3 separate regions of the Homo sapiens genome follow, and regions 1 and 3 are each linked to region 2. Evidence: promoter capture Hi-C in human tissues and cell types (Jung and others, 2019). All regions are on one chromosome and are shown on one strand. The core of a region is centred on a gene start or on the middle of the fragment in contact, and the rest is flanking DNA. Distances in the headings are between cores, read along the strand shown.

Region 1 (4,303 bases), core at 1,782-4,281, 86 kb before region 2:
GTAAAAGACAGGAAATCTTGGGAAAGACAAATGTCCACTGGCAAATCGACACTAGTTCTCTAAATTGAGGGGAAAAAAATAATAATGAGCATTTGACTTGTTCCTCTCCCAACCCTATTTCCTCCTATGTGGAAATTACAATTTGGACAAGATTGTTTTTAATTAATGTGACAGAAATACTTAGAAAAACTCTCAGGACTTGAGCTCAGAGCTGGAGGTTTTTTCTTGTTAGTATTCCCCATTTACAGCCTGGGAGGCAGAGAGATGGTTGGGACTGGTAGTGCTGAAAAATATTATATAGAAATATGGACTATGATAAAGAGGAGTGAACTAAAATTTCTAAGAAAAAAATGCTTATTTAATATAAGGATAAGGATGATGACCAATCGTAACTGCTTCCTGCTGACAAAGGGTGCTCTTTTGGGAACGGCAGTCAGATATCCCTCAGAGGCCTATCTAAGGGTCCCTGATAAAACGTGGCCATTACTTGAGGCTCTGGTTGCATGACCATTTGGAATTTGATAGCCTGAAGGCAAGAAGAGCCAAACCAGATTATTAGAAGACATGTGTTAAAAAGAAACAAAAGGAGGGTGGGGTAAGGACAGCCCCAAAATCCCAGGGCTATGGGCATGCTTAGATAACTTGTGGCTATAGTTACGCTTGCTAAGATTTGGGCACATGGGGCTTGGCTTTGATTAGCTCCCTTGGTTTTATTTTCCCAAAAAAGAAACCTCTGGGTTATGGGCACCCTATTTACTCCCATCACCTGGCAGGATTTGCAGGATAATTGCCCAGAACTAGAATACTAATCCAGATTTTTGCAGTACGCATCCCTTTTGTATCTTCTGAGCTGTAGCTGGAAATCACTGGTTGGTTTATAGGAATAAGCAGGGTTATGCCAAAATGTAGGCAAAAAACTTAAAAACAACTAATGGGGCTATAATTTAATGACAAATATGATAAGCTTTGAAACATAATTTATCTCTCTCCAGTCCTCATTTTTGTTAAAAGCAAATCATGATAGGACTGAGTTGTTTGCAAAATAAATGGTCTTCTATTAGGCCTGATTATTCACCTAAAGTACAGCAAGAATAATTATTTTTACAAAGGCTTTTAAAATTGGCTTTGATGGAACTCTGTTCCACAAGGAATCTCAGATAGGACTTTTTAAAGCCAAACACAGGCATGGGTTTGTACCCTCAAATATCTGTGAGTTGCGTGAATTCCTCTCTTCTTCAGGTCCCAAGAATATGGGGTTCCTGGACCTGTTAGAAAGTGACATTCTTTACTCATCACAGGTTAGGGAACTTGTAAAGGGATTGTGTGGACAAAGTATGAGGCCAGTTTTCCCAAGGGGTTTTTATCAGCTATGCAAGTCGAGACTGATTCCTGAAAGGGAAGCTACTCTTCTATTCGAAGCCTTGGATCTCTAATTGCTTCCTGTTGCAAAAGAAAATGTATTCTTATTGCACTGATGCAAATAGCCATATTTCCATAAGTCGAGAATACTAACAGATAGTTTCCAAATTCTAGAGGAATCAGGCAGAGAGAAACAAACATGCTTCAGTTCACAGGAATATACCTTACTCAATTATTAAAGACTATAAGTGGCTAAAAATAAAAGCTTCCTTGACTCTAAAAAACAAAACACGGATCAGCAATATTTCAAGCAAAACATTTAAAAAAAAAGATTACTTGAGTTTTCTATTACTTCAGTCCATTCCATTAACTCTTGTTTTGCTTGATATTCATTAACATTTCATCTCTTCATGAGTCCTGTATGTTTTAATTTTATTCCAACCTCACAATCCTCAAAATTATCAGAAATCCACATTGAGAACACCTGTCAAAGTTCTATAGCTGATTATAAACCATCTTTTGAAGAGGATCAAAACAAGACACGAATTGTCCCCAAATGACAAAATGTCCAGGGTAGTTACAGTTAAAAACACAATTGACAAATAATTTTGTTTATCTCCATGGTTTACAATACTTTAACATAACCTTAATTATGATTGACAGCATATACTCAGACATTAGAATTTCTAGAAATCCCATGCAATTTTGGAACATATATTAATATTATTCCTTAAAATATAACATGAAGAAGATTAAACATCATTTTGGCAATCCCACATATCTAAACATGTCTAATAATACAGTTTAACTCCTTCTGGATGCTCCAGGGGCCCCGTGTAGCATCCAAAAGATAGGGTCCAGGAAAGACAATTTTGAAACTGAAGTTTGATTTTGAGAAGCCTGTTAAATATGTTAGAGCTTTAAACACTTGACATTATGAGATACAATTACAGATTACCATAAGTTATTTATTTTGTCAAAATGATGACTCAAAAATTTTTAAAAAGGCAAAAATCTTTACTCATTAAGAGGGAGGAATTTGTCTCCTGTCTTCTCTTTATTTTCCTTGGCAGTCTATCTGCAGGGCAAATGGTAATCTTTCATTACCCTTCACTATTACATGAAAATCTTGTACAAGAGAGAGAAAGCCAAATGTTATCCTTATATTAGTTTACTATTAATATCAACCCCAATTTTCAAATGAAAACTTACAGACAATTCTATCCAATCTTAACCATTTTGACCATGAAGTAAGAGTCTTGTAAACCTTTTATAACCCTTGACAAATTTTGCTAAAAAGCAGAATTGTGCCTTAAGGGAATAGTCCTGTGCTTTTATTCCAATGCTCAATTTATAGAAAAATCATATATTATACTCTTTTGAATTTAATGAATGTTCACACACAGAATTCTTTTGCATGATTGATTTTTAGAAACTTTCTACAACTTGTTTAAACCTTTAGCTTTATTTTATCTAATTTAAAACAATATTTTACCACTAGGCAAAAATTTACATTTCCATGCCTTCTTATATCTTTTTACTAAAAACACAGTTTACTGTCCTTACCTACCTTGCATGTAAATCTGTTTTCAGTGGACTCAATTACATGTTTTAATGGTAACTTTCAGCAATTTTTAACTTTAATGTAAAATCTGGTAAGTTGTTTCAATTATGCACTAGGCACTGATAAAGTTTAACACCTTCCACCATAGTGAAGGGTGTCGTTAATTCCAGTATGTCCCCAGGTCTTACCAAGTTGTAAAGCAAGCAAGTTGAACAGTTTTCAAAGGCCAAAGAAGCAATTTACAACCTTAAAACATTTAGCAAACCTAGTATCTGACTTGCATAATTTAGACCATCTATTTACATTTTAATGGCATCTGCATTTTACCAATAATCTTTAAGACTGTTTTTATTTTTCAAATATTATGGTCACATGAACTTAAAGCCATTAAAGCTTTTACTTTTCCTTCAAAAAAATTTAATCAATGTGCTTATTTTTCTTTAAGCCAATTAATTCAAGCTCTTTTTTATAGGTACACACAACACATATATGACTACATGGACAAACAGAAGAAGATCCAGTAGCTGTAAGATTTTTCCTTTGCCAATCTCCTAATTGGATTATTGGCCTCCAGGTGGGACCCTTTAAGAGCAGGGCTAGGAAAGCATGCAGTTTCTAGGGCCTAATAAACAGGTATAGCTGTAAGACAAAAACAGCTTTTGCGAAGGACCTCTTTGCCTCTAATTCCTGGGGTTGCACAAGAAAAACAGAGATTTCACCCATATGGAATCCATGGAGCCTTTTCTGTTTTTCCCAAGGAGCCCCAGGCCATCAGAAATTATCTTTAAGCCTCACATGCATGCATTAATAGTGACAATACTAGGTGGAGAAAAGTAATTCAGTTGACTGAGAAAAAACCTTTTTCAGAAAAAAAAAAAGATCCAAGAAGAGAAAAACACAAAGGCCTTTTAAATATAGATATAACTTGGATATCCACTTTTAATAAGCTGGACACTGTTTAAGAAATTCCTTTTAAATCCCTTATTACCTGACTTTAGTCATTCCAAGCATTCAATATTGCTGGCTTTGAACTTTATCAAACATGACCTAGCAGGTGAACCCAACAAGCCTCAATTAAGAGACACAAAGCACACCAGATTGGCTAAAGCTTAATACCAAACTCATAGATTATTTTTCATTAATCAGAATTTTAGGGCCAGGTGTGATGGTTCATGCCTGTAATCTCAGCACTTTGGGATGCCAAGGCGGGTGGATCACTTGAGGTCAGGAGTTCAAGACCAGCCTGGCCAACAAGGTGAAACGCCATCTCTACTAAAAATACAAAAATTAGCAGAGGTGGTGGCATGCACCTGTAATTCCAGCTACTCAGGAGGCTGAGGCAGGAGAATTGCTTGAACCAAGGAAGTGGAGGTTTCACTA
Region 2 (3,932 bases), core at 887-3,386:
TTCTCTTGTTATAAAGAAAATGACGTAGAAGTAATCATTAAGCTGGGCCGGGTACGGTGGCTCAAGCCTGTAATCCCAGCACTTTGGGAGGCCAAGGCGGGCGGATCACGAGTCAGGAGATCGAGACCATCCTGGCTAACATGGTGAAACCCCGTCTCTACTAAAAATACAAAAAAATTAGCAGGGCGTGGTGGCGGGCGCCTGTAGTCCCAGCTACTCGGGAGGCTGAGGCAGGAGAATGGCGTGAACCCGGGAGGTGGAGCTTGCAGTGAGCCGAGATTGCGCCACTGCACTCCAGCCTGGGCGACAGAGAGAGATTCCATCTCAAAAAAAAAAAAAAAAAAAAAGAAGTAATCACTAAGCTTATCTGATGACCAGTCCCCTAAGTACTTCCAAGTCTTCATTCTTGGTTGTGGCATAGCGGATGAATCTTGCTGGATCCTTGGCTATCGGCTGTTCATCTTATATCCTCTTCCAGAAAGGGCATGCATTTCTTAAGCAATTTACAGCAACTAGTTCCTGTACGTGTTTGATAATAGATTATCTATTTAATAAAATCAGTTTGCTGTTAATGATATTCTACATAAAACATGTAGTTTCACACTGTACCTTCTTTAGAAAATTTAATCCTGTCTCACTGTGGTTTCTATAGTTGCCATTGCTCTTTATTGGTACTGTAATAATCAGGGCAGCAAATTGTGACCCACCTTTGCTCCCTTAGGCTCTAAAATAAGCCTTTGGGACATCATGTTTACAGGTACACTGAGGCTCTAAACTGTGGTTTCAATCCTAAGTGCAACTGGATATTTTATAAACATCAAGATATAAATTGGCATCTCATAAAATGTTAGATTCTTACAGAAATCCTAGACTAGGTCATAGACAGAACAGTGAATTATGTAAATAAATATTTTAAACAGGTATCTCCACCTTTTTTGATACTGTAAAAAATATGAAGGGGGAAATGTATAAGAATACTTCAGAGGTTCTTTGTAAAATTTATTTTTTCCCTATTTACTAACATCTTGAAACACTTAGAAGTGTTTTTTTCTAGCTGAATGCTTTTTTCTACCTGAAAAAATAAAATATTTCCACATTATACTGTTCCTGCTATCCACAGATCTATTCTCCCAGGTTCATCTCTTCAAGATTTGTTCATAAATTATTGATTCCTCCTAATATTCACAACCTCATAGGATGTGCATTTGTGCGTGTGTGTGCATATGTATGTGTGTGCACATGTATGTGTATGCATGTGTGCACATGTGCATGTGTGTATATGTGTGTGCTTGAGTGTCCTACTTTACTGCCCATATAGCTTTTGCCATTTCTTTCCTCAAAAGCTAAGAGGATAGTGACCAAAATATCTATCAGAATTAACAGGATGCTTGAATAATCCTGCCCCACATAGACTTTCTTATTATATAGGTATAATTTAAGAAACTTTTAATATTTTAATGTTTCTCTAGTTTGGTTCAAAAATGGTTTTTAAGTAAATAACAGCTTGAGTAAACAGCATAGAAAATACATATGTATTTTATGTTAAATAATAATAGCTTATATCAAAATCTAATTATAACCATGAATAAAATAAAAGATTTTACATAATAATAAACCAAGGAAAAGAAAAGGACTTATTAAAGTTTAGACATTTCTCTCTCATTATGTCTTTACTTGATTTCTGAGGAGAAATGACCGAATTAAGAAACAGCCATGAGGCATAGACACACAGTGGAAAATCATTTCTCTTTTCAGTAAGTTTTGGGTCTGCTTTAAATTGATCATTTGTTTCATCAGCTAATCCCCAAACAGAGGGCACGTCCGCTCTACTTGCAAAATTCTTGTATGTAAGTTGAATTCTCCCTTTATCAACTCAGGCCAATAAGTACTTTATTTTGTTTTTGCTTGTTGTTAGGGGAAAAAAAAAAAAAACAAAGATAATCAGCTCATACTACTTGCGTAGCTGTCTGCATTTTAATTCCAGACTATGAACGAGCGTCAGAGTGCCCTTATGATATTTTGCACAAAAGGCTCAGTGTTTATGACTCTACTCAGAGAACCCAAAATAGCATTGAGTAAGCAGTGACATACTGACAGTGTTGTGGTACTAAAAGCACAAGCGTCTGTAACTCTGGGCAATGGGGCACATCGAGAGTTTGCTGAGAAGACTGTGAAGCAAAAAGAAGAAAGTTTTTCCTACTCTTCCTTATGTGTCCAACACGAAGTTTGCTGTTCAGTTTTCACAGAACTTCTAGAAGTTGAAGTTACAAAGGTAAGACTGTGATAATCAGGCATATTATAAACTACATGCATCATCTTTAATGAGTCAATAGGTCAAAAAGTACATGACAAAATGTTGCTAGGAAAATATTCTAAAAATATTAAGGAAAATATTTACATAGGAAATAAGGAAAATATTCTAAAAATTTTAAAACCATGATGTGTACTTGTACTGAACTTTCTCAAAACACGTATTTGTGAGAACAGTTCTCCATCTCTGTAATACAGATTGTTGGTGTTGGGGGGAAGTTACACCTATGTTAGGATATTTAAAACTTCTCAAGTTTCTTAGAATAAATGAATCAACCTTTCTTTGCATGTCTTTCTTTGCACTTTTTTCTTTGTTCAGGGTTTTATTTTTTATTTATCATGTATTTACCATGTATATCAGGTAATATGAACAATAGAGTTGTCATCATTAAGTATATGAGAAAAAATATATACAGAATAAATATGAAAAATTTTAAGTATATTATAATTCCAAAAAAATTAAAATATTAGCATTGCTATGAATAAAAACACATATATGCCTAAAATTGTACAGGCATATTAATTTACCTATATGTATTATAACATTTATACATAACACAAAAGGTAATTTCTCAAATATGAAAGTATAAATTAAGAAAAGTATAAATTAGGAAAATGCATACTGTAAAAGACATTTTATATTGTTTCAATTCTAATTTGGTACATGCAATTTTAATTGAATAACTAATTATAATAAAATATTTCAAAATAAGTTTACCAAAGGGATTTAATAAATCTATTAAATATAAAAACATAAAATATTTAGCAACAAAAAATACCTAAATAGAGTGGCAAAGGTTTTCTTTAGATTATGTCAATTTATATTTTAGCTCTATTAATTCATTTGTTGAATTAATATATCTGTAAGAAAGACATTATTTAGATAAAATATTTGAAAATTTAGTAATATATATTTATGTTTTAGATGTAGTTACAATATTAAGTAAAATTATATGCATTAATATATTCTTTTTTCAAATTCTTAATATTGTAATTATCAGCAGTATGCCTACTTACTATAATTTTTGATTTCAAAGAATTTAAATTTCAATGTAATGTGAACATTTATATTGACCAAATAAAATAACTAACAATTTATTTTTAAAAGGAATAAGCATTTCATTATTGTCTGCAATTATTCAAAATTTTTAAACAATCAATTTATGTCATTTAGAAACCACCAGATCTCCTTTCCTTTACATATGTTTTCCACTTTACCAAGCCTTTATAACAGTGAACGAAATGCTCATATCATTATATAAATATCTGATTTTTACAGTCTTACACATTAGTAAATTCTTTACTTAGGCTCCAGTGAAATATTTATAATTTTAGGCACACACAGACACATCTGCATATATCGAAAAGCATATGTCTTCTACTTATATTTTTTGTTTTGTTTTGTTTTTCACTTAGGAATGTTTGTAAGGTACATTTCCTCAAGAAACATAAAAAAATTTTTGATTAAATTATCATAAATTGAAGATGCTTTAAAATGATGTGCACAGATGCCTCCTATGCATTATTAAGAAACCAGATCCATCTTTCAGGAATTTCTCCTAATACAGCTACATATAATCTGATACATATCATCTATAACTAAATATCAACTGATCATTTTT
Region 3 (4,513 bases), core at 840-3,339, 71 kb after region 2:
TCTAAACTATTTTCTAATTATAACAGTAAATAATTTTCCATACAAGAATAAATTGAGGAAACAACAAAATACAAATGAAATTCACCTGAAATTCTGCTTGTTTATTTAGGTGGATGATTTCGTTTTCGGGTTGTAAATTTTTCTGATTTACCACTTGGATATTGTCCTTAAAATCATGAATCCATTATTCATACAATTATATTTATTAAAGCTTAAAGAAATAAATATAACACAATATAAAATATCGAAGTCATTTCCATTACTTAGTCAATAGATTTAGAATTGTAAAGTATTAAAATTACAAATATAAAATATTCTCAGATGCATCTTTTCTTATAGCTGATTTTACATAGAATTTTAATAATCCTGTTTCCTTTCTTCACTCTTTGTTGAGGCAGGGAGCAGATATCTCTCTTTTCCTTACTTTATCAGGCAGATGGCAGGTGATATGGTGGAGTGGAAGGCATCTCCGCATATTATTTGCGATACAATGAACAGTTCTATGGAAACACTGTAGGAGAGCTTGAATCTGGGTTTTCAAGGTTCCATTTAACTAAACCATAAAAGGAGGCAAATGTTACAATGGAATAAATGCCCGCTGTAACAGAGGAAATGTCAAGGCTTCTCGTGTCAGAAAATGCAAAGATGTTTATTTTAAATGCAGCTTTTATTCATTGTGTATTTCTGAGAACAATTTTTTTTTTTCATTTTAAGGAAAAACTTGTTGGAACAAGCTTTTATAACACTGGATAACAAATTTTCATTTTTTTTCTTTCTCTAACATTTTAAAAAATTCTACATCATTAAGCCCATTTTAGATCTATTTGGGGAAAATATGTGTAACTGCCATTTTTTTACTACTGTGAAATCAATATTGAACCAAAAATAATTAGGCTTGACCATTTAAGCTTCAATAGCAATATAAACAAACCACCTACTGGTGGAAAACAGGGCATTACATAAAACTGTTTTAAAAATCATCTAGCTGCATTTGCTAACTACCTTGAAAAGCTTTCACCATAGCAATTATACTGATTATAGGAAAGAGATGTTCCATTTAAAAATTTTTTTTTTCCAGCAAATGAAGTTCGTTGTGCTTAGTCTCTTTTCTGGAAAGCTTCCCAAATTAAGCACAATGCTATTTATCAGTATGCTAGCTAAGTGAATAAAACTACTATTTTAAGGTGAAGCTGTGAAGTTTTATATACATTTTGTGCAGTAATACCAAAGGTTTAATTTAACTTAATTTCAAGCAAAGTTTAGGAACACAAAGATAAAAACATTATGAATTTCTTATTAATTTTCTGTCAGTTTATTCACAACTGAATTACATTATACAATTTAATTATTTAAGCAAAAAGATATTCTGTGATGATGTATGCGCTGAAACCATAACAAATACGAACCTAAATTTTCTGGTTAATTTCTTCTTGAAATCTTTAGAAATACCTTTTCATTTTTAAATGTTCCATTAATTTATTTTCATCCTAAATGTCACACAATGGAGAAAAGTCTCAAAATGATAAATACTAATAGTTGCTGTATTTCTTAAAGGCCATGGATGTGTGTGTGTGTGTGTGTGTGTGTGTAATAAATCCTAGAAATTTTAATTTTTAGTTAATTGAAAATTACAATTTCTATCTTAATTGTAACTGTTATTGTTGGGAAAATTCAATTTTAAGCAAAATCTCATCCCAGCCCAGAAAACCTCCCCTCAAAGGTAGAACAGAGAGAAAAATTTTATTACTGGAAAGCATTAAAACACAATGTGATCTGCATCATAGGAAATCTAAGAGATTGCCAAAATGGAAAGAAATCTCACCTTTTTATGTGGTCAAGCAGGTGCAATCCAATATATACATGTTCTCAAGTTAAATATTATCTAGATATTCAAGTATGAGGACTTAGCACTATTTGTCACATAGAATTCATTCTATATTCACTGGGTAGTTGGAGTGACCGCCTGTATTTGCTAAGTGGTTTTATCCAAAGGACAACTTAACTTTTCATGTCTTTATGACAAGAGGTAGTTCTACAACTTAGAACAAGATCGTTGCTAAAATGAGTCTCCTATCCTTCCCCACATCTAGGATATAGGGATGCTGTATTCCTTGAAGATTACATTTCAAAGAGATGGTCACCATTACTTGATAAATACAATCCTGGATCCTAAAGCTTCCAAGAAACTTGTTGAACTTTTGAAAGATTTCCATACGCTTCAAAGGGACAAAGAAAAAACTTACATACAAAGCTTTTTTTTTCCCTCTCTCTCTCTCTTTCTCTGTGTGTGTGTGTGTGTGTGTGTGTGTGTGTATGAATGCTCTGAGAAAAGGAAGGAAAGAAAAAATATTTTCCCTTGCTTTCAACAAGTACAAGGCCTCTAATTTTTAATTTGTTTTGTTCTTTCAAATTATCATTGCAAATAGTACATATATTTTAAATAAAAACACTAAAACAAACTAAAGAATCCCACTCCTATACCCTTTAATTGTATGCACCTTTCCTATAGCTTTCTTTTTTTTTTATGAAAAAGAGAGGCCCTGTATGATGACTTAAGCCTGTAATTCCAGCACTTTAGGAGGCCAAGGTGGGTGGATAACCTGGGGTCAGGAGTTTGTGATCACCGTTGCCAACATGGCAAAAGCCTGTCTCTACTAAAAATACGAAAATTAGCCAGTCCTGGTGGCATGTGCCTGTAGTTTCAGCTACTAGGGAGGCTGAGGCAGGAGAATCGCTTGAGCCTAGGAGGTGGAGGTTGCAGTGAGCTGGGATCCTGCCACTGCACTACAGCCTGAGAGAGAGAAAGATTAAAAACAATAAACCTACACAATATAATAGCTGCAACTTACTTTTTTCAGTTCACAAAATACATGTCTGGTTAGTAGATGCAACAAAACAATAATATTTAACATTCATTGTTCAGTTATGTACTAAGTACTCTTAATTGCCTTATGTATATTAACCAATTTGTGTAATTGCTTCATGTAATTTATGCAATTGCTTTATGTATATGTTTAATCTTAACAACAACCCTATAAGGCAGGTACTACTATCACACCCATTTTTCAGAATGCCAACTGAGGCATTCTGGTTAAGTATTTTTCTCAAATTGAGAAACAAGATTCAAACTCAAGTCATCCAGTTTTAGAGCTCACAATAAAAATGTGTTACATTGACTCTTTTATCTGAGTCAGGGTTTCACTCTGTAGCCCAGGCTGGAGTGCAGTAGCCCGATCACAGCTCACTGCTGCCACAACCTCCTGCTCAAGCGATTCTCCCACCTCAGCCTCCCAAGTAGCTGAGACTACAATGTACACTACTACACTCAGCTAATTTTTTTGGATTTTTAGTAGAGATGAGGTCTCACTATATTGCTCAGGCTGCTCTCAAACTCCTGAGTTCAAGTTATCCTCCTGCCTTGGCCTTCCAAAGCGCTGGGATTTAGAGGTGTGAGTTACCATGCTTGGCCAGACTCACAAATTTTTAATAAATCCACATAATATCATAGTTCAGTTGTAATTTATTCTCCCCAATTCTTTTTTGTTGTACATTTGAGTCGTTTATATAATTTGGATGTAATGCAAATAACTCTGGAATGTATTTAATCGGATCATTTACTCAAATACTGATACCTTAGACTGTAGCTTAAGTTTAACAGATTGGGTCACAGATATGTGTAGTTTAAATTTCATTATCCATTGCTAGAGTCGGTTTACATTGTTATTTTTCAGCACTCAGCTATCACTGGGTGCTGTTCTATCGCATATGACAAAAATGGCATGGGCTAAACCATCATTCTTCTTACCTGTGGTGAGAGGCTGTGTGAACATTATGATAACGCGGCGTGTCTCCACTACAGGCCATTTGGCTCCACACTTCTGCCCCCAATTTCAACCAGGGCACATTGACAATGTCTGAATACAGTTTGGATTGACACACTGGGATGGGAGGGATGCTGCAGACATTCGGGGAATAGAAGTCAGGGATGCCACTAAGCATCCTACAATGCACAGGAGAATCTCCCAAAACTAAGAATTATCCAGTATAAAATATTAATAGTGACAGCAGTGAGAAAGTCTGCTATAAGATAAATCGAATTTTCTCTCCTGTGAATTCCTACTTCATACTTTTTTCTGAAATGTCTTTTTTATATCAATTTGAAAGATTTAAATGTTTTAACCACAATTTTCTCTCATTATGTTTTTTGGATTTCTTGGCTCACTTAGAAAATCTTCTCAATTCAATGTTTATATAAAAACTTTATTTAGATTTTATTATAACTATTTTACTTTAAAATATATTTAGATTCTAATTATTTGTTTTTAAAAGCTACGCCCTAAATTTCAGTGGTTCACAGAATTTTTTTTGTTATAGCACTGCAGCTATAACCTTACACAAGTAATTTAACTGTAATTTTTGAAACTAAATGGTTTATCAATTTTTTATCCGTAAAATTGGGGGGATAATAATCCATATATTGATCAAAATTAAATGAGTTAATACAAAACTTTAA

The links. Contacts are between HindIII fragments. The study calls those that stand out against the background at their distance.
Region 1: a contact is called between a fragment that was not itself captured here and the fragment with the promoter of CDH19 in region 2, in 2 of the 25 tissues and cell types used here (H1 embryonic stem cells and hippocampus).
Region 3: a contact is called between a fragment that was not itself captured here and the fragment with the promoter of CDH19 in region 2, in 2 of the 25 tissues and cell types used here (dorsolateral prefrontal cortex and hippocampus).

What each region holds. Positions count from the first base shown.
Region 1 is chr18:66,688,448-66,692,750 of GRCh38, reverse strand. No RefSeq gene overlaps it. Among named protein-coding and RNA genes, the nearest start is that of CDH19, 87 kb to the right of the region's middle. The HindIII fragment of the contact is 3,473 bases long and covers 1,295-4,303 here.
Region 2 is chr18:66,602,294-66,606,225 of GRCh38, reverse strand. CDH19 (cadherin 19) reads left to right here and starts at 2,136. Exons shown (of 12, transcript NM_021153.4): 1 at 2,136-2,272. The HindIII fragment of the contact is 13,282 bases long and covers 1-3,932 here.
Region 3 is chr18:66,530,290-66,534,802 of GRCh38, reverse strand. The region is part of intron 8 of CDH19 (cadherin 19); the gene reads left to right. Among named protein-coding and RNA genes, the nearest start is that of CDH19, 72 kb to the left of the region's middle. The HindIII fragment of the contact is 3,231 bases long and covers 474-3,704 here.